Regions from separate parts of the Homo sapiens genome. Here regions 1, 2, 3, 4, 5 and 6 are each linked to region 7. Evidence: promoter capture Hi-C in 16 types of primary human blood cells and fetal thymus (Javierre and others, 2016). All regions are on one chromosome and are shown on one strand. Each heading gives the region's core, a stretch centred on a gene start or on the middle of the fragment in contact. The rest is flanking DNA. Distances are from core to core; before and after follow the strand shown. Region 1 holds the start of MRPL23 (mitochondrial ribosomal protein L23). Region 2 has its middle 32 kb from the start of H19. Region 3 has its middle 27 kb from the start of MIR483. Region 4 has its middle 12 kb from the start of MIR4686. Region 5 has its middle 6.9 kb from the start of H19. Region 6 has its middle 45 kb from the start of MIR483. Region 7 holds the start of FAM99B (family with sequence similarity 99 member B).

The links. The method cuts DNA at HindIII sites, captures the fragments that hold promoters and counts their contacts. A CHiCAGO score of 5 or more calls a contact.
Region 1: the fragment with the promoter of MRPL23 here is called in contact with the fragment with the promoter of FAM99B in region 7 in 10 of 17 cell types (M1 macrophages, neutrophils, monocytes and 7 more); the score reaches 9.6 in M1 macrophages.
Region 2: a fragment that was not itself captured here is called in contact with the fragment with the promoter of FAM99B in region 7 in 5 of 17 cell types (M0 macrophages, M1 macrophages, activated CD4 T cells and 2 more); the score reaches 7.7 in M0 macrophages.
Region 3: a fragment that was not itself captured here is called in contact with the fragment with the promoter of FAM99B in region 7 in 3 of 17 cell types (M0 macrophages, M2 macrophages and M1 macrophages); the score reaches 9.6 in M0 macrophages.
Region 4: a fragment that was not itself captured here is called in contact with the fragment with the promoter of FAM99B in region 7 in 2 of 17 cell types (M2 macrophages and M0 macrophages); the score reaches 6.5 in M2 macrophages.
Region 5: a fragment that was not itself captured here is called in contact with the fragment with the promoter of FAM99B in region 7 in 17 of 17 cell types (M0 macrophages, neutrophils, M1 macrophages and 14 more); the score reaches 16.8 in M0 macrophages.
Region 6: a fragment that was not itself captured here is called in contact with the fragment with the promoter of FAM99B in region 7 in 3 of 17 cell types (M0 macrophages, M1 macrophages and M2 macrophages); the score reaches 7.9 in M0 macrophages.

Annotation. Positions count from the first base shown.
Region 1 is chr11:1,945,597-1,949,208 of GRCh38, forward strand. MRPL23 (mitochondrial ribosomal protein L23) reads left to right here and starts at 1,736. Exons shown (of 5, transcript NM_021134.4): 1 at 1,736-1,783. The coding sequence starts at 1,767. The HindIII fragment of the contact is 42,193 bases long and covers 1-3,612 here.
Region 2 is chr11:2,027,578-2,031,593 of GRCh38, forward strand. No RefSeq gene overlaps it. Among named protein-coding and RNA genes, the nearest start is that of H19, 32 kb to the left of the region's middle. The HindIII fragment of the contact is 4,258 bases long and covers 1-3,494 here.
Region 3 is chr11:2,105,776-2,109,444 of GRCh38, forward strand. No RefSeq gene overlaps it. Among named protein-coding and RNA genes, the nearest start is that of MIR483, 27 kb to the right of the region's middle. The HindIII fragment of the contact is 9,248 bases long and covers 1-3,669 here.
Region 4 is chr11:2,183,417-2,187,454 of GRCh38, forward strand. No RefSeq gene overlaps it. Among named protein-coding and RNA genes, the nearest start is that of MIR4686, 12 kb to the left of the region's middle. The HindIII fragment of the contact is 1,911 bases long and covers 1,467-3,377 here.
Region 5 is chr11:2,002,884-2,006,551 of GRCh38, forward strand. It overlaps a transcript of MRPL23 not described here. Among named protein-coding and RNA genes, the nearest start is that of H19, 6.9 kb to the left of the region's middle. The HindIII fragment of the contact is 6,201 bases long and covers 1-3,668 here.
Region 6 is chr11:2,087,454-2,091,466 of GRCh38, forward strand. No RefSeq gene overlaps it. Among named protein-coding and RNA genes, the nearest start is that of MIR483, 45 kb to the right of the region's middle. The HindIII fragment of the contact is 7,456 bases long and covers 1-4,013 here.
Region 7 is chr11:1,684,276-1,687,798 of GRCh38, forward strand. FAM99B (family with sequence similarity 99 member B) reads right to left here and starts at 1,354. Exons shown (of 3, transcript NR_026642.1): 1 at 1,163-1,354; 2 at 1-27. LINC02708 (long intergenic non-protein coding RNA 2708) reads left to right here and starts at 3,355. Exons shown (of 3, transcript NR_187232.1): 1 at 3,355-3,523. RefSeq lists an enhancer at 690-1,459. The HindIII fragment of the contact is 16,209 bases long and covers 1-3,523 here.

The DNA of each region.
Region 1 (3,612 bases), core at 486-2,985, 260 kb after region 7:
GCAGCCCCAGTGATCTGAGCAGCACCCACCCGTGACCCACAGCTCGGCCTCCAATCACCCTCCTCTCCACATCGGCCACCCACAACTCTGAACCCAACTTCCAGCAGCCACATATCTCTAAGCACACTGCACAATGTGGCTGCCGAAAGAGGCAGCATTGCATGAACATAAAAGGAAGCCTGAGGACCCCCGGCCCCAGGACCCCCCTTCTCCAGCTCCATCCCTGTCCTGCGGTCTGCTCCTTGGGCCTGGCCAAGGGCACCTGCTGCTGGGCAAAGGCCTGTCTGGTCACCAGCCTCCTGGGACCCTGCCACTGGCAGCCTGGAGCTTCTCCACCTCACGCAGGCCTGGACAACAGTGGGGACGGCTGCCACCACCTTCCCTGCCCACTCTGGCCCACTTCTCACTCCATCCTGCTTCAATGCCTTCATGCTAGATAGACCCCCTGGAGTCATTTCCACTCAAACCCACCCATCAGGAGGAACTCCAGCCCTACCCGGCCCAGGCCCTCGGAGGGGCACAGTGCCCTCTCCTCCTCCTGAATTTCCATCAACCCCAGTGCCCTCCCGCAGCCCTGTTCCCACCTGCAGGCCTGGGCCCCCTGCCCCCAGCAACAACCAGGACCCATGGCCCCGCTTCTTGCTCTGAAGCATGACACCCCTGCCTCTTGCTCTGAAGAACACTTAGGGTGCTGTTGGGTGCGGGAACAAGCCAGGCTTGGGGGTGGGGGGCACGGGCAGTTAAAGAGATAGATGGAGAAGTGGCCTGAATCCAGCCACCAGGCAGAGGAAACCAGGGGAGGAGGGAGAGGCCTGGGGACAGGGGAGGGAGGCTGCTGCCCTCTACTCCCGAAGGGTCCCAGCAGCCCTCCTGGCCAGCACTACCCAAGGAAAGGAGTGAGGACTGGGCCTTGGACGGGGGTCCCTGTAGAGAGGGCCTTGCCAGAGGCTGGAGGGGGCTGGCCAGAAGGGTGGAGAGGGGGTGAGCAAACGGCAAGGCCTGAAGAGGCCAGTGGCCCTCTTGGAGGAGGCGTGGTGGGAGCACCGAGGATGGACAGCGTGGCTGGTGTGGCCAGCGTGGGGGCTGCCAACCGGGCTGGCCAGAAGGGCGAGGTGAGGGGCCCTGGGGTTCCGGGCTCCCGGGTAAAAACAGCCAGATGGAGAGAGGGGCTTCAGACCCCAGGCCCGGGGACCCGCCCTCCCCAGCACTACAGCCCCGGTTCTCCACTTCCAGCTCCCAGCAGCTGCAAGCGCAGCGGTGCGGGGCCAGGCTGTGGCCTGGAGCTGCCAAAGGGCAGGGGCACGGGTGTGGGGGGCGTGCAGGCCGGGGTCCCGGGAGGCAGGGCAGACAGGCCCGAAAGAGTGCGACGGCGGCGGGAGGTCTCTGGGGCTGGGAGGGGTGCGGGCGTGGGCGGGGCGCGAGCAGCAGGGGCGCGGGCCCGGGCTTCAGGCTGTGGGGCCGGGAGTGCGGGGCGGGACTGCTGCGGCCCCGCGTCCTGTGGAGTCTGCGGCGCGGGGAGTGGGGGTCGGGGCGGGGAGGAACGTGGGGTGCGGGACAGGAGGGGGGCAGGGAGGGAGAAGAAGGCGGCGCGGGGCGGGGCGGGCGCAGGGCTGGGGACGGCACGGGCGCGCGGCACGGGCGCTGGCGCGTGCGGGGGGGGCGGCGCGGCCTCCGGAAGCGAGGGGGCGCTGTGCCAGGCGGCGGCCGTGCGGGGCGGGCGCGCTGCTCCTTCCGCCTCGCGGACCCCGGAAGCGCGCGTGGCCGCCATGGCGCGGAATGTGGTGTGAGTAGGGGTCGTCACCCCCCCGTCGCGGGGCGCCCCTTAGTGTCACAAGCAGACGGACCCCACAGGGCGCGCGGACTCCGGGGAGCGGGGTGGGCGTCCCTGGGCCGCCTCCTGGCCCGGGCGAGGCAGGGTTCTCCGGGACCCCCTGTCATGCCTTGAGACACGCGAGGCGGGTGGCGGAGGAGCCCCCCGCCAGGTTTAGGGCAACCCCAGGGGGCGGGCGTGGCCGGGCTGGGGACAGAGGGTCCGAGCCAAACCCATGGAGGCCACGGTGCCCCCGCGTGGGGAGTGGGAGGGTGGCCCGGGGTCAGGCCCGGGGCTGGTCCCGCAGCCAGGGCCGAGGGAGCTGTTTGGAGACGTTTCTGATCGTCACGGGGCGGGGGCCACGTCGGCTGTTGGGTCCAGGCGGGGAGGCCCGGGCGGCCCCCACCGCAGCGCGGGCGCGGCCTGAGGCAGAGGAGCTGGGAATCCAGATTGGGTTTGAGTGGGAAAGGGCAGCTGACCGCAGCCCTCAGGGCTTTGGGGCAGGCAGGGCGGGAGGCCCGGTTCTGCTCAGCCCAGACCCCCCACGCCCACTCTGCATGTTCTCTGGATTCCCAGGGGGCCATCGGGGCGCTGTCCTGCACCACTTCGCCCTCCCCAAATTGAAGCAGGAAGCCCTGCATATTTCTTGGTGAACGAATGACTCAGGCGTAATCAGTAGATGTGGGCTCCCGGGTGGGTTTTGGAGAACAGTAATCAGTGTTTCTGGAGAGGGACGGTCAAGGGGCCAGGGTGTGGCTTTGGAGGCCCCTGCACATAGCTGGGGAGAGAGGGGAGGGTGGCAGGTGGGACCCCCAGTGGAGGAGGCTTCCTTCAGCAGACACCTGGGACCGGTGCTGCGCGTGGCCCTGACCTTGGGGAACACCCAGCACCAAGGAAGAAAAGGTCTGAGTGAGGCCAACACTGCCCTGAGCCTCACGTGAATTCCACGCTGGCCCTTCGCCTGTCCCTGGAGAATGAGGAGGAAGTGAGGGTCAGAGGACCCGGGTGGGGTGTTCCTGAAGGGCCAAGGGTGGTGGGCCCCTGGAAACGGATCAGGTGTGGTTGCCTTGGAGGCAGCGGGGCCCGCTCGCCCAGCAGTGCACACACTCCTGTTGCCAGGGAGCCTTTGCAGGGAGCGCTGACTGGACTTGCTGTGGACTGGATGCAGCTGGGGTGGGGGTGCCGAGAGGGTGGGATCCTGGGTGAGTCACTCGTGGGGCCGTGGGGAGGCAGGCTGGTGGCAGTGAGCCAGGTTTTTGTGTTTTGAGGAAGAAGTTAGTGCAGAGTTCTACTTGAGATAGGTTACCGTGGAGGTGCTTGTGAAATCCCATGCGGAGTGCTTGGGGTGCTCCCTGGGGAGAGTGGGACTGAGGGAACTGAGGGCTGGTGGGCCCACAAGGGTTCGAGAACAAAAGAGAGGCCTTAGAGCCCTGTCCTGGGGCCCTGGGTGTCGACAGTGCAGATTGTTCCAGATCTGCAGGCTCCATGCACAGGCAGCTGGCGCTCCAGCCTGGAGAGGCTCGGCCTGTGGGAACAAGGACAGTGAATCGTCCTGGCCCAACCCCTGCCAGCCTCTCATCTCAAGCCCACACATGGCCCTTCAGACCCTTAGCAAAGTGTGCCCTTCAGGCCCCAAGCCTGGAGACTCGAAAATTAATGGCCTGGGAGCTGTTGAACCCTCTTTTCTACTGTTTACTGGGAGTCCCCAAACTTTGTCTCCACTCCTGCAGTCCCACAGCTGGTCACCAGAGGGAATGTGTGAGCCCCTCGGGTGGCCATGGCTAGCCTGAACCTGTGGGTAA
Region 2 (4,016 bases), core at 116-2,615, 340 kb after region 7:
GCACCCTTGCCCACTGGGCCCACAGCTCTGCAGCAGGCACCTGGGGCTCCTCCCTCTGAGAATGCACAGGCTCAGCCCGGGGCCGGGCTTGCAGGGGCCACCAGCACACGTCCCATGGCTCAGGGCCGGATGGGGACTGGCCGGGGAGATGGAGCTCTGGGCAGCATGGACTAGGCAACATCTCGCCACTGCCCACGCCAGCACCAAGGCCTGTCCTCTCCAGGCGGTGCCCTCGCCGGTCCTGCTGGCTCAGCTGCCCCTCCCATCCCACTGGTCTCCACTGGCTGTGAATGGCAGTCCCAGCTGCTATACCAGCCTGGCCCGGGCCGCCCCCTGCAGGGGCAGACATCACTGCCAGCCTCATCCCCAGCTCTCAGGCACCGGCCGTGTGGGGCACAAGAGCGCCCAGGGAGGCTGCTGGCCTTTTTTGGGCCTGTCCACTGCAGGGCCACCTGTGCCCACCAAGGGGGGCCAATCAGCACAGCCGTCTGCACAGGCGCTCAGGCCGAAGGACGGTGGCTATTTCAGGGCCTGGCGTCAGTTTCCCTGTCCTCTTCCCAAAGAGGAAGGGAATGTAGACGCCTGGCCCGGACAGGCGCCAGCCAGGCACTTGGAGACCCCAGAAAGGGCAGCAAGGAAGGGAGCAGAGAGGCCAGCCCAGGCCCGTCCAGCTCCCCTTTCTGCCCATGAGCTCACGGGTTCTGGCCCTCGGGCAGTTTCGAGGCCCCCATGTCACCGTCTCCCCACACCCTGGTTCCAGGAGAGGGTAGGGGAAACGGCCCTTCCTCCGGGGCATGCAGGGTGGGCCAGGTGGCCCTGGTATTCCCTTTTGCTTTTGCAGCTTCTCCCTGCCCCAGGGTTGGAGGGAACCTCAGCCCCCTCTGACGACACCGCGGGGGCCCCAGACCCTTCGAGAGGCCACTCTGGTGCCTCCATTGTGAAGCCCTGGCTTTGGGGCTGGGCTCAGCAGCTCTTGGAGGACAAATCAGGTCCCTCCTCCCTTGCCAGCTAGTAAGGCCGCCAGGCTGGCACAGGATGAGAGTGAGCTACAGACTGTTTTAGAGGGAGGCTGGGCCCTCCTTAGGCTGGCTCGGGACGGTGGGGAGGGGCAGTCTTCATCACAAATGGGTGGCAGGCGGCTCAGCACACACGGCACTCCCCGAGCCTCTGCAGGCATGAGTGGCAGTCAGCCGTGTTCCCTCTGCCCTGCCCCGTGCCCCTGCGCCATCTCCTCCACTCCAGGAGAGACCAAGGGAACCAGTGCTGCCCTGGTGGGGGGTTTCTCTCTCCAGCAGGTCACCTGGCGAGGAGGGCTCCAAGCCTCAGCGTGAATACTTAGACCCCCCCCCACCACTGCATCCTGGAGAGCGAGCGAGTGGGGAAGACGGAGGGGGCTGGGGGAGCTGTGGCACAAGCAGGGCGAGTAAGATGGAGCAGGAGGGAGCTCCACCAATCAACCCAGCCAGCTCTGGAGCCACCTGGAACACTCAAAGGGAACGTCCTTCTGTCCCCAAGAGCCCCACTTTAGGGCTGTTTGCTGGGCTGACTCCCTGGCCTGCAAGACCCCAGGTTGCTCACTCAGCCCAAACCCCCACCCATGGCACGGACCGCCCTCTCAGCCAGCCCACTCGGCTGGCTTCCCAGGACTGCCAGGGTGAGCTTCCGAAAACTGCTGGGGCTGGTTCTGTGTCCTCTGGGGAGACACCCTGGTCAGTGCTTCCCGGGGCTGAAAACGCCCAAGGAGCTGACCGCATGCCCGGCTTGTTTTCTTCCTGGGACAGTAAGAAATGGGCGCAGGGTTTGGAGAGGCTGCCAAGCTGCTCCAGCCCCAGGGTGCTGGGGGTCAGCACCAGTGTCTGAGTGCCCGGGTCCTCAGGAGACAGGTTACCCGGGCTGGCTTGAGCTCCCAAAAGCAAAGCTGGCACTACCCACCCACCTCGGGGCAGAGCCCCTGTCAAGACCCAGAGCTGTCCCAGTCTGCTCCTGGTGAGGCGGGGACAGAAACCAGAAGACCTCCCTGAGCTAGTGGGCTACCAGCTCTGCCTGCTTGGAGTTGGGGCTGGGAGAGACAGGGGCCGGCGAACACAGAAAAGCTAAAGTCTGGCTAAATCCTGTAGGCTCGGGTGGGTTCTGTTTGACCACAGGCCTTTGACCTGGGGTCGACAGTCTTCCCCTCCAACCTGGAGCTCAAGGGTGAGCTTCAGCCTGGATGGGGGCATTGGGGGCTTGGAGGGTCCTGGACGCTCAGAGCTGGGTGCCAGATGGGAGTGCTGGCCAGCCCTTGGGAGCAGTGCTCCAGGGACAGTGGGCTCTGCCTGCAGAGAGCTTGCAGTCTCCCTGGGCAAACACCAGGCAGGCCTGGAAAGCGTGTGTCATTGAGCTGTGCCAGGACGGCAAGCCGGGAGTATGTGCTCCTTGGGGAGCGGGGCCCAGGTCTGGGCTCCAGGGCTGCCTCTTGGCTGGATACCCAGCTTCACATTTGGCTCAACACAGCAAGGAGGGGTCAGGGGTCTCAGGCAGTCAGGCCTCCAGTCTCAGTCCTCACACCACTGCCCCCGGGCGCAGGACCAGCACACGGACAGGCACAGGCCACAGCGCTGGCGGTGCCCGGAGGAGGGTGTGTACGTGGCTAGCAGCTGTAGGCGTCCTGGGGGCTGCCAGGCCTCTTGCCTCACCCTCCCCTTCAGGGCAGCATGGAGTTTTGGGATTTGACCTTCACCCATTTCCAGATCCTTCCAGGGCTCCCCTGGAAGCCCCTGCCACTCCACACTGTGCCAGGCCCCAGGTGGAGAGAGCTCCCACCTGTCCAGTGCTGTGGTGTGGGGCTGTGGGGGGTGGTGCTGGGTGGGGCATAGCCTGCTGCTTTGAGGGACACTGACCTTTGAATTGAGGAGGGTCCTGGGCCTTCAGCAGGGGAGGGACACAAGGCCACAGCCCCCTTGGCCTGCCCGAGCAGATGACAGCCAGGTCTGGAGGGGCAGGCAAGAGAGGAGGACGGCACAGGTTTCAGCCCAGCATGTCACCTGAAGGCCTCAGTGTCAGAGGCAGGGCCCCTGGGGCCGCCCCAGCTCCCTTGAGCCCCAGAAGTCCAGGAACACACAGTGCCCAGACACTGCACCAGGAAGCAGAGGCCTTGCCCAAAGGTGTCGGGGCCGGGGCTCCCCAGGCGGCTGCTGAAATGGCCCACTATGTCTGCACCTGTGCCCCAACAGGGCATCCACACCCATGCCTGCCTGCGTCCACTCCTGAAAAGCTGTCAATAAAAGCTCATTTGCAATGGACCAGGATGCCAGGGGGGTCTCCAGGTGGGCAGGGGGCTCCCCAGGTGGCCAGGGGGTTTTTCAGGGGTCTCTCCAGGTGGCCTCAGGGGACCCTTCTGTGAAATGGCTCATCGTCTACTCGGATTTCTTCAAGTGGGACCCCTTTGCCTTTGACCGAGGCCCACAGGCCCTGGGCAAGTGGACAGCTGGGGGGAAATGTGGGTGGGTTTGGGAAGCTTTGGTTTGAGCAGAGGGGCTGCGGACCCTTCTGGAGCTAGGAAGGCCAGCCCAGCAGAAAGCGCTGGCTGAGGGTGGTGAAGGGAGCCCTGGCCAAGGGGCTCTTGGCAGATAGGTGGGCGGGCGCTGTGAGGCCTGCTGGCCGCAGCCACACAGCAGGCAGCGGGCCGGGACCTGGGAGTGATAAATGGCTTCCCCAGGAGCCAGGCGGCTCTGCCAGGGCCTTCTCAGTCCTCTGAATTCAGTCTTGTTGACCCTGAGGCCCAGTAGGGCCCCTTCGAACAGGGCTGCTTTGTGGCTGAGGTGGGGGTGTTGCTTGCAGTGGGGTTTGTACGTGCAGGGCTGGCATGGGGGGCACAGGGAGTGCCAAGGAGGCCCTGCCAGCCCAGGGGGAAGCTCAGCTGTTGGAATTAATGGCAGCAGCCAGACCCTGGTGCCCACAGGCCCTGGGTTGGGAGTTTGGAGGGGGCAGCAAGCCCCCGTGTTGAGGTTCAGCTCAAAAACGACTTGGCTCAGCTC
Region 3 (3,669 bases), core at 643-3,142, 420 kb after region 7:
CCAGGCTGGTCTGAGCTCCTGGCCAGGGGCCTCTTGGCAACATGACCTGGCAGGTGCTGTCTGTCCATTATTCCCCTCTCACGGATGTCCCCGGCCTCTGTGGACATGACCGCCTAGCCCTGAAACTCCAAATGTACCTTTCTGCCTCTCCTCTTCTCTGTCAGGTGATGCCATCCTTCCCAGGGGCCTTCTGGGCTCTTCACTCCTCTAGGCCCTCAGCAAAGGCTCTCACTCTGCCCTCAGCACACACCAGGGTGCAACCACCCTCACTCCTCCACCAGTCCCTCCCAGTCACTCCCTTCTGTGTGTATCCCAGCAGGTGCCTCCACTTCTCCTCTTGCACTCTGGTCACTCAGCAGCCACAGGATCCCTTCACTCCTAAGCAGAGACCTCCACTAGCCCCACTTCTCTCCAAGAAAAAGCTGCATCCCCTTCAGGGCTTCCTGATGCCTTCCTGGGCAAGCTCCCCTTGGTTTCTCAGGTGTGTTTCTCAACAACCCATGCTTCCTCCCTATCCACCACTCCTCAGAGACGCCACATCACCTCTCTACAAGCCTTGTACCCGCTGCTCCTGCCATGAGATGCTCTCCCCCAGATGTCCATGTGAGTATGTGGTGGGGGCTAGAAAGGTATGTAGATGGGTAAATGGTTGGCTGGGTAGATGGCTGGATGCGTGGGTGGATGCATGGATCCATGGAAGGAAGGAAGGAAGGAAGGAAGAGAGGGAGGGAGGGCAAGAGGAAAGAAGGAAGGAAGGAAGGAAAGAAGGAAGGAAGAGAAGAAGGGAGGGAGGGAGGATGAATGGGTGCACAGATGGGTGCATGGATGGGTGCATGGATGGGTGCATGGATGGGTGGATGAACAGATGGATGGATGAACAGATGGATGGATGGATAAGTGGATGCATGGATTCATGGAAGTAAGGAAGGAAGGAAGGAAGGAAGGAAGGAAGGAAAGGAAGATGGATGGATGCATGGATGGGTGCATGGATGGATGGATGGATGCATGCATGGATGGAAGGAAGGATGGATGGGTGGATGGATACATGAACAAATGAGTGGGTGGATGGATGGATGGATGAATGGGTGGGTGGATGCATGGATGGGTGGATGCATGGATGGATGGAAGATAGATATATGGATAAATAAGTGGGTGTATGAATAGGTGGGTGAATGGACGGATGAATAGATGCATAGATGGGTGGATGCATGGATGGATGGATGGATAGATAGATAGATACATGGGTGAATGAGTGGATGTATGAATGAGTGGGTGAATGGATGGATGAATAGATGCATAGAGGGGTGGATACATGGATGGGTGGATAGATAGATAAATACATGGATGAATGAGTGGGTGTATGAATGGGTGGATGCATGCATGGATGGATGGATAGATGGATGGATAAATGGATACATGTAGGAGTGAGTGAATAGATGCTTGGATGGATGGATGGAAGAAAGGATGGATGGATAGATGAATACATGGATAATGACTGGGTGTATAAATGGATGGGTGGATGGTGGGTGGATGAATGAATGGATAGATGCCTGGATAAATGGATGGATAGATGCATGGATGGATGAATGGATGGGTGGATGCCCTTTCTCTGAATGCCAGCCAGGAACGTAGCCAAGTGGAAAGGCCCAGGTGGGCAGCTGTCTTCCCAGACCACTCACACTGACCTGAGAACAACTGCTGGGCCCCAGGTGTTGAAAGGGCAAAAAGAGATGTACCCAGCTGGACTGTGCAGGTGCTGGCTGCCCGTTGTTTTGAGCCATGCTCTGATTTGTTCCTCTGTGCCTGCTCTGGGGACTTGGCCACTCTGAGCCATCTGCAGGCTTCCCTGGTGTCCCCTGTACCCATACCACAAGCCAAGTTCCTCCAATGTCACCCTTGATTGCTGTCCCTTGTGTGACTCACACTGGTCCTCCCTGTGTGATCATAGGCTATTCGCCTCTGCCACACACCACACTCATCACCCAGGCTAATCTGGGTGGGAGGCAGACTTGTCCAGCGCTCACAGCTGCTGAGCCTCAGAGCCAGGCCAGACCCAAGGCCAGGACTCCTGAGCTCCCCTCCAACTCTCCGTCCTTACAAGCCTTCCTTGCACCAGCCTTGTCCCCTCTGGTCTAGTTGCATCTATTTCACCCCTGCCAGAAGACGGTGTTCGTTGCCTATGGCTGCAGAATAAATTAGTCCAAAACTTAAAACAATAAAGACTTAAAGTGATGGATATTTATCATCTCAGTTTCTGTGGGTCAGGAGTACAGGAGCAGCTTAGCCTGGTGGTTGTGGCTTGGCTTGGCTGCCACCCCCTGACACCCCAAGCCAAGCCACCAGCCCTGGGCCCCAGCCATCTGAAGGTCCTGCTGGACTGAAGTGTCCCCTTCATGCCTGGCAACCTAGTGTGGCTGTCGGAGGGATGCTCAGTCCTTCCACACAAACCTCTGAGGTTTGCGCATCCTCACAACATGGCAGCCAGCTTTCCCCAGAGGGAGTGAAGGGAGAGAGGTGGGGGAAGAAGAAGGATGCTGCAGTGTCAATTATGACCTGGCCTCAGAAGTCACCCGCCGTCATTCCCACTGTTGGTTACACAAATCCATCCTGTTAATGTGAGGGGGGCCGCACAGTGGCCGAATTCCTGGAAGTGCAGATCTAGGCCCATGGCTACCATGACCTGCAGCTGACATGCTCTTCTTTCTTCCACAAATGACATGAAGTGAGAGAAGCAGTGGGCAAGGTAGCCCCAGACTGACCATCTTCTTGTGGTTCCATTGCCGACACCTGGTGACCTGGCCCAGCCAACACCTCCAGCCCCCTCCTCCTTCCCCACAATAGGCTCAGCTCAGGCCACCCTGAGCGCCAGGGGCAAGGTGTGCCTGGAGCTCTTCAGTGAGACAGTGACTGTTTCTGGGGTAGCCCTGGACCCTGAACCCCTCCAGTGCTGAGATAGACGAGGGGTCCCTCCTTACTGTCCCCTTCCCTGGCCCCATGACTCTGCAGATTCCCCAGCCACAGGGCAGGAAGGGTAGAGCCAGCGTTTTGGGTGGGATAGGGAAGGGCCCGGCTGGGAGGCAGAACAGCTGGTGGAGGGTGGGGGAGGCATCCTGAGGCCCTGGGGGACACCAGGGCACCGACTGTACGTTGTTCTCCATCCCCAGCCTGGGCCAAGAGGGCAACCCAGGGAGCCCAGGACCTTGTCCAGCAGCTGAGGCCTCTGAGGGGAGAGTGCCAGAAAGAGTGGGGGTGCCAGGGCTCTGTCCCCCATCTTTCCTGGCTTGGGTTTCTGGGAGAGGGGGCGGGTGTTGACTCCCGGAGGGGCTGCCCTGGAAGTCAGGTGGCCTGGCGGTTCCCAGACCTGCCAGCCCTTGCTGAGGGAGCCTGCAGGCTCTTCTCCTTCCCAGGCCTCCCCGGCATCTGAGAACCTTCTCCCCAGCACTGACCCATGGCTGGGAGAGGGTCAGGGCCCTCAGGGAGCCCGGCTGAGCCAGCACGGGACGCAGGGGTCGGCTCCTTCAGACCCCCCCACTTTCGGGCAGCGGTGCCCACGCCCAGCTGGGCAGGGCCGAGTCCATGAGACCCACTGCCCTCCCCGGGAGCTCCCGGCCAGCCGCCCACTGCAGCAGCCCGTGTAAAAGTAACGCCTGTTATGCCAGGAACGTCACA
Region 4 (4,038 bases), core at 1,172-3,671, 500 kb after region 7:
ATTTTACCATTTTAACCACTGTTCATTGTCCAGTTCAGTGGCATTAAGTACATTCACATGGTTGCAAAACCGTCACCACTGCCATCTCCAGGACTCTTTTCATCTTCTAAAACTGAAACTCTGTTCCCCATTAAACACTCGTTCTTCAGCTCCTGGTACCGACAATGGCTCTCTGTCTCTACGCCTGTGACTGCCTTAGGGACTGTGTCTAAGTGGGATGCTGCAGTACCTGTGCTTCTGAGGCTTATTTCACTCAGCACGATGCCCTCGGGGTCATCCCTATGCAGCAGTGTCAGAATTTTCTTCCTCTCTAGGATGGGCCATCTTTTGTCCATTCATTCACCTGTCAACACACACTTGGGTTGCTTCCGCTTTTTGGCTCTTGTGAGTTCTGAACCTATGAACGTGAGCATACAAGCATCTCCTTGAGACTCCCCCTCTTTTTTTTTTTTTTTTTTTTTTTTTTTTTTTGAGATGAAGTCTCGCTCTGTCCAGGCTGGAGTGCAGTGGCGTGATCTCGACTCACTGCAACCTCTGTCTCCCGGGTTCAAACGATTCTCCTGCCTCAGCCTCCCGAGTAGCTGGAATTACAGGCATGCGCCACCATGCCTGGCTAATTTTTATATTTTTAGTAGAGACAGGGTTTCACCATATTGGCCAGGCTGGTCTGGAACTCCTGACCTCATGATTCACCTGCCTCGGCATCCCAAAGTGCTGGGATTACAGGAGTGAGCCACCGCGCCCAGCTGAGACCCCCCTTTCTGTATACACATACACACACACATACGTTTTTTAAGAGATGGGGCCTCACTCTGTCACCCAGGAGTGCAGTGGCACCATCATAGCTCACTGCAGCTTCAAACTCCTGGGCTCAAGCAATCCTCCCACCTCAGCCTCCCAAGGAGCTGGGAATGCAGGTGCGCACCACCACGCCCAGCTAATGTTTTAATTTCTTGTAGAGATAGGGGATCTCCATATGTTGCCCAGGCTGGTGTTGGACTCCTGGCCTGGGTGATCCTCCTGCCTTGGCCTCCTAAAGTGTTGGAATTATAGGCATGAGTCACTGCACCCAGCCTTCTTTCAATTCTTTTGGGGCTAGACCTAGAGGTGGCATTGTTGGGCCATGTTGGACCATTACACACTCCCCCCAACAGAGCACAAGACTTCCAATTTCTCTACATCTATATTATTTTTAATTTTAGTTACATGAGCAACAGATTCTCCTTTGAACACACACATACACACGTGCACAAACACAAATATAAAAAGGTGCGTGTGCTCCTGGCCCCCCAGCCTGGATACTGGAGGGTGAGCCCCTTTGGGGAGGAGGGAAATCATGAGCTTATGAGCTCTGGGAGCCCACATTCATGTTCTTAGGAATGCCCCAGCACCTCTCCCGTCACACTCCGCCAGCGCGACCCAACAGCGTCTGTCTTCCAGGTCATCATCCACGCCCGACATTACAAAGCTTGAATGACACTTCAGCGGCATCTCAGGTCCGCTTGCTTCCCGAGCATCTCTACTTCTCCCTCTCTCGAACGATCCCTTCACTTCCTCCCCTCATCTTCCCTTTGGAGCTTACACTTTTCCTGATGAGATGTGGGAATTCTTTACGCATTCCCGACATGAATCCTTTTCGGCAGGAAGTATCATCTCCCAGAGCCTGGTCCACCCTTTACCGTGTTTATGGAGACTGTGGTCATCAAGAAGGCTTGGCAATGATGTGGCTTCGGGGAGCCACGCTTGTCAACCGTCTCCTTTGTGGTTTCTGCCATCCGGATCTTGTCCAACAACCTACCCCAAAAACAGCAATGTTCCCCCAAAGAAGGGAAGCACCAGCACCTTTCTCGTGCACACTGGGGTAGGGGACTGTGTTCCCAGAAAAGCACATGTAATGTCATAGCGCAGTTTTGCATTTAGAAGCAATAGCAACCGATGGTCTATTGTTTCTCTTTTACAAACCACAGATGGTGGGCTGGGCAGAATCTTCTGAATTGGGGTGAATGTATCTGTGAGTGCCTGTGCAGGGGAGGCAGCATGGAGGGCATGGCCTCCAGGCAATGCTGATGCTGAGGTTTTGATGTTTATCAAAGGGATCAAGGGTTAGGAAGGCAGAGAGAGCTGTCAGCTCCACAAGCACTGAGATGCCGCAGGGAGCCCTGCGGAGGGAGCAGGCAGGCCATGCACCCCACCTTCCTTGGGGAGGGCCTGGGCGCCAGGGCTGGGCGACATGAGGAGGCTGACTCTGTCCAGGCCACCTCGGGATCCCCGCCCCCTGCGCCAGCGCGCCTCTGGAGTGGCTTCCCATTCGGACCAGAATGGGGACCCTCAGGCTTGCATCCTCTGAGGGTTCGTCTACGGGCACAGGGGGCCTGGGCTGGCCCTGGACTCGAGGCCGATGTCATTACCGCTGCCCTGACAGTGTCAGAGCCTGCGCCTGGCTCGCGCTCCAGAGAAGGAGCTGCAAAACTCAGCCTAGATTGGCAGTCTCCCAAGGAAGCTGGGCGAGGGCGTTCAGCTGGAGCTGGGGTGGGGGCATAGGGAAGGCGGTGGTGCCAGAGCGGGTTTGGCTGTTTGGAAGGGGGTGGGGATGGCAGGATCTCCAAATGACCTCCTCTGGAAGGAGCCCTTTCCTTCTAGATTCAGCTCCTGGGGTCCCCACCCTTATGATCCTCAGAGTGCTGTATGCCCCCTCCCCACTGTCCGCCTGGGCAGGGAGCAGTCACGGGGTGGAGCTGGCGTCCAACATCCTGGCCCCTCTTCCTGGCTCCCACCTGGCACCCAGGTGTAAATGGCTGTGGTTTGGGGCGTTCCAGTCCCTCCCCATCTGACCTCTGCTTGCCACCTTCTCCGATCCAGGCTATTGCCCCCTCAGCCCCAGGGCCTCTCACCTTCTCCACATCCCCACGGAGAGCTGGGAGTCCAAACAAATCCCACGGTCCATGCAGCCTGCCACAGCTCCATGAGACACCCAGGCTTAGTGAGGACCCCTGAAATGTGTACACAGGCCTCACGGTTCTTCCCAGCCACCCTCACTCTATCTCTTTCCAGCAAACACCTCCCAATACAGGTGCTTCATTGATTTCATCAAACGCACGTTGCCTTGGCCACTCTCTTACTCAAGCACTTTCAATGGCTCCCACTGCCTGAAAATGATGGCATGACCTCAGGTCTTGCCAACGCAGGGCCCCTGGTGGGCCGGACCCCCCACTCTCTAGCACTTCCCCTCCTCTGCGTCCTTCTGCTCACAACCCCCACGCTCCAGTCTCAGAGCCCATGGGAGGGGCCTCCTTTGACATTAGGAGTAAAATTTCCAGGCATTTTTAGACAACAACACGTTTGAATATTGACTCTGACCTGCCGTAGATGCCCCGGTAAGCTTATTTTATAAAGGACCCCAGCACAAAGGCCTTCTCAGCCTGATATCCCTGTGGGCACCACAGGATGGCGCCCAGACGCAAGCACTTGGGCAGCCTTCACCCAGAGGACGCACGTGTGCTCCCTCGGAGCCTCCAGGTGAAGCCACTGCAACCCCCGCTGAGGAGACAAAAGATGAGGGCGGCCCACCCAGGCCTCCCTGGAGAGGCTGCTGAAAAGGGCGGCTGCATTCGAAGGGCAGCAGAGGCAGGAGCAGGAGGCACGGCCGGGCGAAGGGGGCCCTTCCCAGGATGGCAGCCCGAGAAGGAAGCGGCGCCAGGCAGCCAGGGACTGACTGCTCTCCATGACAAGCTGCGAACACAAGATATCTAAGTGCGTGCACACACACAGACACACACACACACAAACACACCACACACCACATACACACCACACACCACACACCACACACACACACAGATGCACACCACACCATACACACACCACACGCCACATACAACACACACAAACCACACACACCACATACACACCACACACATGCACACCACACACACCACACCACATCACATACAAACACACCACACACAAACCACACATATACACACCATACACACAAACACCACACGCCACATACGCACACATACGCACATGCACACCACA
Region 5 (3,668 bases), core at 917-3,416, 320 kb after region 7:
CCCGATGTTAGTCGCATGAGTGTCTATCTCTGACAACCCTCGGGAACCAATGCGGCACCTGGCCTGGGAGACCTGGGACGTTTCTGTGGGTGAACCCCAGCCAGGCGTGCTCGGGCTGTGATGTGTGAGCCTGCACTGCCGCCGCGCGGCCACTTCTGATTCCACACGTACAGCCGATTCTGCGCCATCAGGGCAGTGAGACGGGCCTCCCTTGGTGAGGTCAGCAAGATGGGCCGCCCTCGGTGAGGCTGGCATCCAAGACTGAATGGGAAGCCTCCAGAAATACCTGTGCGCTGTGCTTGGCAGGCTCCCACGATCCCTGTTCCTGCTGGAGGCCCTGTTGGGAGGGTCTCCCTCTGGACCTTGGGCTCAAGTTCTTTGGGGTCCAAGTCATGACCACTGCAGAACAGAGATTTCTCTTTGCCTCCAAGTATCCACTGTCCTACGTGCTATGGGAGCTGTCATCGGTGGTGTCCCTGGGATTAGGCTCCCAGCCATGCATGGGCTCCTAGACAGCCCCAGGGTTCTCCCATTGGGAAATGCCGCTCTACTACACATCAGCCACAGCGCATTAATGCTTGGTTCTCCTGGTGAAACCGCCTCTGCAAAAATTATTACAGAAAATCGGCCGGCGGTGGTGGCTCATGCCTGTAATCCCAGCAGTTTGGGAGGCCGAGGTGGGTGGATCACCTGAGGTCAGGAGTTCAAGACCAACCTGGCCAACCTGACGAAATCCCATCTCTACTAAAAATACAAAAATTAGCTGGGCATGGTGGTGGGCGCCTGTAATCCCAGCTACTTGGGAGGCTGAGGCAGGAGAATCACTGGAACTCCGGAGGTGGAGGTTGCAGTGAGCCAAGATCGAGCCATTGGACTCCAGCCTGGATGATAAGAGCGAAACTCTGTCTCAAAAAAAAAAAAATATATAACAGAAAATTATGACAATGAAAGAGATCTGACGTAACCAACTCTGTCTTGCCTTCTTATTCATTTCTGGGTGCAGGCTGGACTAACTTTGGGAAGAACTTAGTTTATAGTTTATCTTTGAAACAAAGACAATAACAGCCCTTTCCCAGGACAGACCCTCTTCCTGCCTGGGGACTAGACTTTCAGGACTAACAAATTAGCCACAGATTAGAAATTATGGTTTAGGAGTCATGGAGTCACACATCTGGAGGCTGAAAGATTTTTAACCTCCTCAAATTGCTCCTAGGATTACATCACTGTTGCAGAACCTAAGATCAGTGGTTGAGATATTTCGCAGACCCTGTACTGGGTGGATCAGCTGGCACCCCCCAGATTGATAAACTGGCTCATCTAGTCTTGTGGCCCCCACCCAGGAACTGACTCAGCAGAAAAAGATGGCTTTGACTCTCCATGATTTCATCTCTGACCCAACCAATCAGCACTCCCTATTGACTCGCCCCCTACCCACCAAATGATCCTTAAAAACTTTGATCCCCAAATTTCCTGGGAGACTGATTTGAGTAATAATAAAACTCTGGTCTCCTGCACGGCCGACTCTGTGTGAATTAAACTTTATTGCAAGTCACCTGTTGTGATAAAGCAGCTCTGTCCAGACCGGCGGCAGGGAGAACCTGTTGGGCGGTTAGACGGGTTCAGACACTACTCTCCTGGGGGTGATGGACATCTCTTCTGTTCACTGATTCCCGGAGGAAGATTTGGGAGATTTTGCCTGGGAGCAGGCAAACACCTCGGGCTATTTGCTTTCTAATGGGGCATTTGCATGTGTATAGGACAGACCGGGAGCTGCCCAGTTTCTGCTTCCAGGCGCACCTGCTAAGAGTAGTCTTGCCAGTGAAGCGACTGCTGGGGTACAGCAGCACAGCACAGGGGACCTAGTTTTTTTTTGTTTGTTTTTTTGTTTTTTGAGTCTCGCTCTGTCCCCTAGGCTGGAGTGCAGTGGCATGATCTCGGCTCACTGCAGGCTCCGCCTCCCGGGTTCACACCATTCTCCTGCCTCAGCCTCCCAAGTAGGTGGGACTACAGGCGCCCACCACCTCACCCGGCTAATTTTTTGTATTTTTAGTAGAGATGGGGTTTCACCGTGTTAGCCAGGTTGGTCTCGATCTCCTCATCTTGTGATCCGCCCGCCTCAGCCTCCCAAAGTGCTGGGATTACAGGCGTGAGCCACCGCACCCAGCAGGGGACCTAGTTTTGAGGACTACTGGGGTCGGGTCTGGTCTGTGCTGGCCACGGTAATGGTGAGTGCCTGGGTGCTATGATCCACACACAGGGTGGCACCAACATGAAAGTGGCCAGAGCCCCAGCCAAGGTGCCCAGAGCACTTGGGTGGGGATGTGGGCACAGCGCTGTCACCTGGAGGCAGATGTGGGCACAGTGATGTCACATGGACAGGTATATAACCACAGTGATGTCACCAAGACAGGACGTGGGCACAGTGCTGTCACCGGGATAAAGATGTGGGCACGGTGCTGTCATCTAGATAGACACATGAGCACTGTGTGTCACCTGGATAGGGATATGGCACAGTGTCACCCGGATAGGGACATGGCACAGCGTGTCACCTGGATAGGGACACAGGTATAGCGTGTCACCTGGGTGGGACATGGGCATAGCACATCACCTGGGTGGGACACGGGTACGGCACGTCACCTGGATAGGGACACGGGTACGGCACGTCACCCGGGTGGGACACGGGTACGGCACGTCACCCGGGTGGGACACGGGTACGGCACGTCACCCGGGTGGGACACGGGTACGGCACGTCACCCGGGTGGGACACGGGTACGGCACGTCACCCGGGTGGGACACGGGTACGGCACGTCACCCGGGTGGGACACGGGTACGGCACGTCACCCGGGTGGGACACGGGTACGGCACGTCACCTGGATAGGGACACGGGTACGGCACATCATGCGGGTGGGACATGAGTACAGCGTGTCATTAGATAGAGGGGCTTTCTCTTCTCTCTCCCCTGTGGCTGGGACCTACCCAGATATAAGTAATGGGATAGCCCACTTGGGCTTTGCCAGTTCCCTGAGGCTGCCATAAGGAAGCCCCAGAAACTGGGCTGATTGGAACAACCACGTGGAATGCGTCTCTCCCTGTTTCGATGCTAGAAGGTCAGAGTCGGGGTGGTCAGGGCTGGCTCCTTCTTCGAGCTCTAAGGGAGGCTCCAGTGCTGGCCGACTTTCCCAGTGTTCCCAGGCTCCCAGACCTGTCACCCCAGCCGTGCCCATCTTCCAGGATGCTCTCATCCTGCGCCTTCACGCAGCGTTGCTCTCTCGTGCCTCTCCTCTACCTGTGAGGACACCATGATGTTTGATTCAGGGCCTGCCCTACTGCAGTCTGACCTGATCGATTGCGTCTATAATGACCCTATTTCCAAATGAGTTCGTGCTCTGAGATGCTGGTGGTCAGGGCTTCAACTTGTCTTTTCTGGAGAGGCACTAAACAGACTCCATGAGGAACTGAGGAGTCCAGAGCAGTGAGATGGAAGGAGGCTGGGCCCTGACCCTGGGAGCTGGCGATCTTCACACTCATGACCCTCTCATGTCTCTCTCCGTGACAGAGAAAAGCCAGCTCTGGGCCCATTCAGGATCGTCCTGGGGTTTCCTGGCTGTGGCAGCTGTACCTCCCTCTCACCTGTGCCCACCACTCCAGAGCCGGTGTGTGGGCTCACG
Region 6 (4,013 bases), core at 583-3,082, 400 kb after region 7:
CCTGGCGCCATGTTCCCATACAGCCTGCGGAACTATGAGCCAATTAAACCCCCTTTTTCTAAATTACCCAGTCTCAGGTATTTCTTTATAGCAGTGCGAGAATGGAGTAACACAGAGGGAAATTCTGGCACATGCGACAATGTGGAGGAGCCTTGAAGACACTACGCTCAGTGAAAGAAGCCAGTCCCCGGCCAGGCGCGGCGGCTCATGCCTGTCATCCCAGCACTTTGGGAGGCTGAGGTGAGTGGATCATCTGAGGTCAGGAGTTCAAGACCATCCTGGCCAACATGGTGAAACCTTGTCTCTACTAAAAGTACAAAAATTAGCTGGGCGTGGTGGTGGGCGCCTGTAGTCCCAGCTACTTGGGAGGCTGAGGCAGGAGAATTGCTTGAATCCAGGAGGCGGAGGTTGCAGTGAGCCAAGATTGCGCCTCTGCACTCCAGCCTGGGCTTCAGAGAGAGACTCTGTCTCAAAATAAATAAATACAAATAAAAAAGAAAGAAACCAGTCACCAAAGGACAAACGCCATGATTCCACTCACACGAGCTTTCTAGAGTGGTCAAAGTCATAGAGACAGAAAGCGCCAGGGGTACCAGGGGCTAGGGGAGGGAATGCGGAGTCGGTGTTCGATGGGGGTGGGGGTTCAGTGTGGGAAGGTGAGAAAGTTCTGGAGATGGATGCCGGTGACATCTGCACGACGTCGTGAATGTACATAGTGCCACAGAACAGTGCACTTAAACACGGTGAAGATGATCGAATTCACAGTGTGTCTATTTTGCCACAATAAATAAAGGAATCCATATTTTCCTATCTATTTTTAGACTATCATGTGGGGATTTGGCAGTGATCAGGTTACTCGATTTGGTGCAGTTAGAAAAGTTCGTCACTGTTTAAGCAAATAGGAAAGCCGTTTATCCTGCCTAGCTGTGAGAAAATCCCCTAGCGTCTTTGAAACTCTTCGGGAGCGCCCCCCTCCCACACGCCTCCTTCAGGCTCCACCCAGTGCCGGGCATTTGATTCTGCTGCTTCGTGCACACCAGACCGGCACTGGGCACCGGGCCGTCATCTGCTTCTGTTAATAAAGTTTTATTGACACTCTGCCCCCATCATTTTTATGTATGGCCTAAGGTTGCTTCCAATGGTGGAACTGAGTCATTACAACAGAGACCTGGAGACCACAAACCCTAAAATACCACGTCAGATCCGCATGTGGAACACCCTATTGCCAAATATCTGCTTGGAGCTGTGTACATTTTTCCTCGATCCCACGACTAAAACCAATTGTAATAAAACACGATAAAATTAATTTTGAAAATCCAAATGCTTGATCTAAAAAAAAATGTGGCCCCAGGATGTGGGCCTTTGAGCAGAAAGCCTGGCCGCGCAAGGAGGGGCTGTGGAGGTGAGGGCAGGGCTGGTGGGCTAGGGCTGAGCGGTTTCTGGAGTCCCAGGAGGCCTCAGGAGATGTGGGGAGCTGGGCAGTCGGCCCGGAGGGCAGGGCAGGGACCACCCAGACATGGAAGGTGTGGAGGCCAGCTCTGAAAATGGGGTGGGACAGAAAGGGAAGAAAGGGGCATGAGCCAGCAGCCGGGCAGTCAGAGCCAGGGGCCCAGGGAGCAGTGTGGTTTGGGTAACGGGTGTTTGCCTGCATCAGGCACTGCCCTGTCTGGGGAAAAACAGAGCCAAGAAAGGACTCGTGGGTTTGGCCACCTAGAGGCCACCAGAGGCCTTGAAGAGAGCTGCTTTGGGGAGGTGGGACAGTCCCGTGGATGTGGTTCAGAGGAGGTAGGAGAGGAGCACAGCCCAGAGCAGAAGCGCTCGTCTTCGGAGCCAGCAGGTGGAATTAATGGCCGCAAAGGTGTCTGATCCTCATCTCTGAATGTGACCTAATGAGGAAGAAGGGTCTGTGCAGGTGTGAGGAGGTGAACGGCTTTGAGATGGCAATCCGGTCCTGGACCATCTGAACACCATAAACGCCAACACAAGGTGGTTATAAGAGGGAGGCAGCTGGAGATTTGATGACAGAGGGGCGGAGGAGGCAGTGTGAAGACAGAGGCAGAGATGAGAGGAACGGGACCACATAGCATGGAACCGCGGGAGCCCCCAGGAGCTGAGAGATGCAGGAAGGGTTCCGCCTAGAGCCTCAGAGAGAGCTGGCCTTAGACACGGTGAGGTCTTAAGAGAGGGTGTGGTCTTAGAGGGGGTGTGGCCTCTAGTGAGGGTGTGGCCTTAGAGAGGGTGTGGTTTCTAGTGAGGGTGTGGCCTTAGAGAGGGTGTGGCCTCTAGAGAGGCTGTGGCCTCTGTGCCAGCAGATTCACTGCTAGAGTGAATAGATGGGTGTATAGGATCCTCATGTCCCCAGCTGACAGTTCAGGCCCTCAGATCTGGGAATCAAATTAAAGAGTGTTCTGAGTCCAGGGTCCCGAGGAATGCTACCACCCGATGAGGGGCGAGTGTAAGGGCAGAGGTGGGTTGGGTCCTGGAAGCTGGGCAGTGACTCATCTGGAGCCCCCCTAGGCCTGGCCAGCTGGGCCTGCCACCCTCATGCCCCACCCTCCAACACCCCCGATGCTGCTGCTCAGGGCCACCTGGAAGCTGAGCCCCATCTGGCTCCTAAAGTCAGCATGAAGACCCCGAGGCCACCAAGCATGCCAAAAATAATTCAGCTAGGGGAGGAAGGTGAGGGGCTAAGTTCTAAATAGGGCACAGCCACAAGCAGCACAAGCCTCACTGCCCTCTGCCCCTTGTTGATGCTGGGCCAACAGACCCTGTCGTAAGGATGCCTGGTCCTGGACTCCCTACCCCCGCATGGCAGGGCCAGGCAGACCTGTGGCCAGCAGCTGCCTGAGTTTAAAGGGGGCTCCAGTCCTCATAAAGGCCATGGGGAGGGCGGGCATGGGGTCTGCTCAGCAGGTACCCCCTGTCCTGCTGGCCACCTGGTAGCCTCCTGACCCCTGGCCCCTCTCGGCTCACCCAGGAGCCACCACGCCCTACCCACTGGATTAACTGGGCTTTGCACATCATTTCCAAAAGACACTGGGCCACAAAACTCCCATTCAGCCTTGTGACGTTATCGGCTCTCTGACCCCAGCCTGCTTCCCGGCCCCCCGGCCCCCTCCACAGGCCTGCTCATCTGGCTATGCAGCCTCCAACATCTGGACTGATGAAAAGCCACCGCCACTGCCATCCCCACAGGCAAGTGCGCACAGAGGCAAGCGGGCCGTGTCTATGCGCACACTTGTATGTCCAGGGCTTGGCTGTCCAGGGCTGAGGGCAGGACAAGAGCCACAGCAGCTTTGAAGACATCGGATTCTGGGGCTGGGCTCAGAGTGGCCGCCACCTTGCAGGGTCCCACCAAGACCACTGCAGCCTGGAATTTCCTGCTGACACTGGACGTAGGAGGCCTGGAGGGCCTGCAGGGGTCAGCCAGCGCCTCCAGGACCCTCACTCAAACCTTGTCCCACGCCTTACCACCTTGCACCTGGTCTTCCCACACCAGGAAAAGCCCCTCCCATCCTCCAGACCCCAAAACTCTCAGGCGGCCCCCACACTCTTGGAAGCCCATGACTTGTCATATCTTCTGGGGAGTTTTGGGCCCCAGTACAGCCCACAGCACAACCTCCTGAGGGGCTTGGTTTATTTATATTTTTACTGTAATGACTTACTTGAAATTTTGCTTATTTATTATCTTTTTATCTCTGACACCCTGAGGGGCTTGGGAAGGGTGAACGGAGTGACACTCTGGAGGGGGCCACAGGCTAACCTGCAGGCCTCACATGTGGGTGGAGGTGGAAGAAGGGGCTTGGATTCTGGGTCCTGGCTGCACAGCCCCGGTCGGAGGCCTGTGGGGCTGGGGGCTGGGGAGCTGGCCCCCAGGCTGTAATTACCAGGCTCACCTCCACCTGAAGTGGGGTGTGGTGGCCTCAGCCCCAAATTACAGAGCACAGCTGCATGGTACAGTGCGGGCAGGAAAACAGGGCCTGCTCCTGTCCGGCTCCCAAGCCCTTTTCCCA
Region 7 (3,523 bases), core at 104-2,603:
CAGGATGCCGGGACCCTCTAGTGTGTTCTGGAAGCAGAGGCTGGGTGTGGGCACGGGAACCTGTGATTGTCCCCAGACACCGAGAGGCCCACAGGACCCCCAGTGCCCAGACCCCGGCTGCAGATCGGGGGGTCCAGTCATGTGTCGGGGAAGGAGGAGGGGAGCAGGGGCCACAGACAGGGGGTCCAGGAGGGCAGGGGGTCCAGGAGGGCAGAGGACCCAGGACAGCAAAGGGTCCGGGAGGGCAGAGGATCCAGGAGGACAGGGGGTCCAGGAGGGCAGGGGGTCCAGGAGGGCCCAGGAGGGCAGGGGGTCCAGGAGGACAGGGGGTCCTGGAGGGCAGGGGGTCCAGGAGGGCAGGGGGTCCAGGAGGGCAGAGGGTCCAGGAGGGCAGAGGGTCCAGGAGGGCCCAGGAGGGCAGGGGGTCCAGGAGGACAGGGGGTCCTGGAGGGCAGGGGGTCCAGGAGGGCAGGGGGTCCAGGAGGGCAGAGGGTCCAGGAGGGCCCAGGAGGGCAGGGGGTCCAGGAGGACAGGGGGTCCTGGAGGGCAGGGGGTCCCGGAGGGCAGAGGGTCCTGGAGGGCAGGGGGTCCCGGAGGGCAGAGGGTCCTGGAGGGCAGGGGGTCCAGGAGGGCAGGGGGTCCAGGAGGGCAGAGGGTCCTGGAGGGCAGGGGGTCCAGGAGGGCAGGGGGTCCAGGAGGGCCCAGGAGGGAAGGGGGTCCAGGAGGACAGGGGGTCCAGGAGGGCAGAGCCACAGCAGGCTGGGTGCTGCTGCTACAGGGGGCTTCACCCCAGCAGCCCCCTGCACTGCCCCTCTGACAGCCTCCACCTTTGACCCCCCAGAACAATGGGCTGCTGTGGCGGCTCTGGAGGCTGCGGCCCCAGTCATGGGGCCTGCGGCTGCCATGGGCTGAGACCCTGCTGCTCTTCGTGGAGACACTGATGTCCTTACCAGATCTCCCGGGCCCGCCCTCAGCCTCCAGGCTGACCAGGCTTCCTGGGCCTCCTAGGACACAGCCCTGGGTCTCCTCCTCTAGGATACTGGATGGGAATCTGCGGCTTCCAACATCCACCTGCCCGCCTTCCCCTCTGCCCTGTCCCCTTGCTGCCATGGCCGCCTTTGTCCTCCCTGGAGATTCAGAGAGCAGCCCCGTTCTCAGTTACCTGGCCTTCTGGGTCCTTGGGAGGTTCTGACCTCTTCCCAGCAGGGGCCCTGGGGGCTGCGTCCTGCCTGGTCCAGGCCTTCTCACCCTCACCTCCCTCTGGGCTCAGGGAGCTGGGGCCACACAGCCCAGAGAGGCTGGTCTGCCCAGGACAGGCCACCCTCCTCCTGCTCCCAGGAGTGCCTGCAGCCCTGTCAGTTTCCAAGAGTGTCTCCTTCAAGCAGCCTCGTCAGGTCGAGCCACCCCCAGTGCCCTCTCTCCTCTGGCAGCCGCGCTCCCTGCCCTTCCTCCCCACCTGCTCAGTCCTGCAAAGCCTCCTGCCTAGCTGGACACCTGGGGGTTCTGTATCCCACACTCCAGGGGCCTCCTTCACATGTCGGTGACCTCTGACACTCCAGGGGCCTCCTTCACATGTCGGTGACCTCTGACCGCTGTTTCAGACCCACAGCTCCTGGGTGCACTCAGCCTTGGGTCCCGATGGCACCAGAGTGTTCCACGCCTGGGGCAGCGCACTCATTGCAGATCTGGCCTGAGACTCAGCAGCCGGGCACCCCATGAGATCTACTTTCTGAATGGCGTCGTCACCTGACTGGGCATACAGGCCACGGACCCCATGGTCATTTGGGCACTGACCCCTCTCACACCCCCCAAATCCCACCTGAGAGCAGCCCATCAGGCAGGCCCCATATATTGGATGCCTCTAAGTATCAGCCTTGATGTCCCTCTAATTCCAGCCCTGGTGTCTTCTCCCTGGGACACCCTGCTGCTCCCTCTAGCTGTGCCCTCCACGGTGACTCCAGACATGCGGATTCAGCCTCTTCGCTCCAGGACCAAACTCCTCAGCAGCTCCCACTACTCCCAGCATGCCATCCAGCTCCTCAGCCCAGCAGCAAAGACAGGCACAGAATGGCTCCCGAACCCATCGCTCCGGTCCGGAGAAGGAGCCCTCCACCCTCCACGCTCCATTCGCTGTCCCCTTGCGGGCCCCTGTGAGGAACCCCAGCCAGAGGCACCAATGGCCGCCACTGACTTTCACCCTGTCCTGAATCACAGGACCAAGGAGGCTGCCCCGACAAGGGTCGCTTCCAGACTCACTCCCTGTCAGCCACTGCCACATGCCTGCCGTGGGCAGCATTGGAGGACAGGGGGTACTCTGTCAGTCAGCCTAACAGGCTGGTCCGTCCTTCCTTCCTTCCTTCCTTCTTCCCTCCCTCACTTCCTTCCTTCTTCCCTCCCTGCCTCCCTCCCTTCCTTCTCTGCTCCCTCCCTCCCTCCTCCCTCCCCCTCCTTCCCTGCCTCCCTCCTCCCTCCTTCTCTGCCTCCTTCCTCCCCCTTCCCTTCCTTCCTTCCTTCTCTGCTCCCCCCCTCCCTCTTTCCCTCCCTCCCTCTTTCCCTCCCTTCCTCCTCCCTCCTCCTCCCTCCCTCCCTTCCTTCCTTCTTTCTTTCCTTCCTTCCTTCCTGCTTCTCTCCCTTCCTCCCTCCCTCACTTCCTTCCTTCCTTCTTCCCTCCCTGCCTCCCTCCCTTCCTTCTCTGCTCCCTCCCTCCCCCCTTCCCTGCCTCCCTCTTCCCTCCTTCTTTGCCTCCTCCCTCCCCCTTCCCTTCCTTCCTTCCTTCTCTGCTACCTCCCTCCCTCCTCCCTCCCCCCTCCCTTCCTTCCTTCCTCTCTGGTCAAATGCGGGTACATGAGAGTTCCCACCATCCCCATGGTAAGTGCACAGTTCCGTGGCATTGGGAACCTGCACGTGGCTGTGCCACTGTCGCCACCATGCAGCTCCAGCACCTTTTCATCGCGCGAAACTGGAGCTCCGTCCTGACTAATCACTCACTCCCATCGGCCTCTGTCACTGGCCCTGCTGACTACCATTCTGCCATCTTCCTCTTGAATCTGACTCCTCTGGGGGCCTTCCATCTGTGGGGTCACAGCATTGGTCCTATTGTGACTGGCTGGCTTCACTCGGCACGAGGCTGTGAAGGTTGGTGGCGTTGCTGCAGGCGTCAGAGCACACTCCTTTTCCAGGCTCCGTAAGACCCCGATGTGTTTGTCTACCCCATTTCAGATCCCCTCACCTGCTGGGTTGTTTCCACCTTTGGGCTATTGTGACTGCACGGCTGTGAGCATGGGTGTCTGAGTCCATTCTGTGTAGCCATAAAAGAACCTCTGTGATGGGGTAATTCATCAAGCTCACAGTTCTGCTGGCTGAGAAGTTCAATGGCATGGCCCTGGCTTCTGCTGGAGGAGGTCAAAGGGGAAGCAGACACGGGAAGAGAGATAAAGCTCAGGGATGTCTTGGCTTCAGAACAAGCCCCACTCATGGGAACAAATCCATTCCCATGGGAACTCACCCTGTATCACAAGAGGAG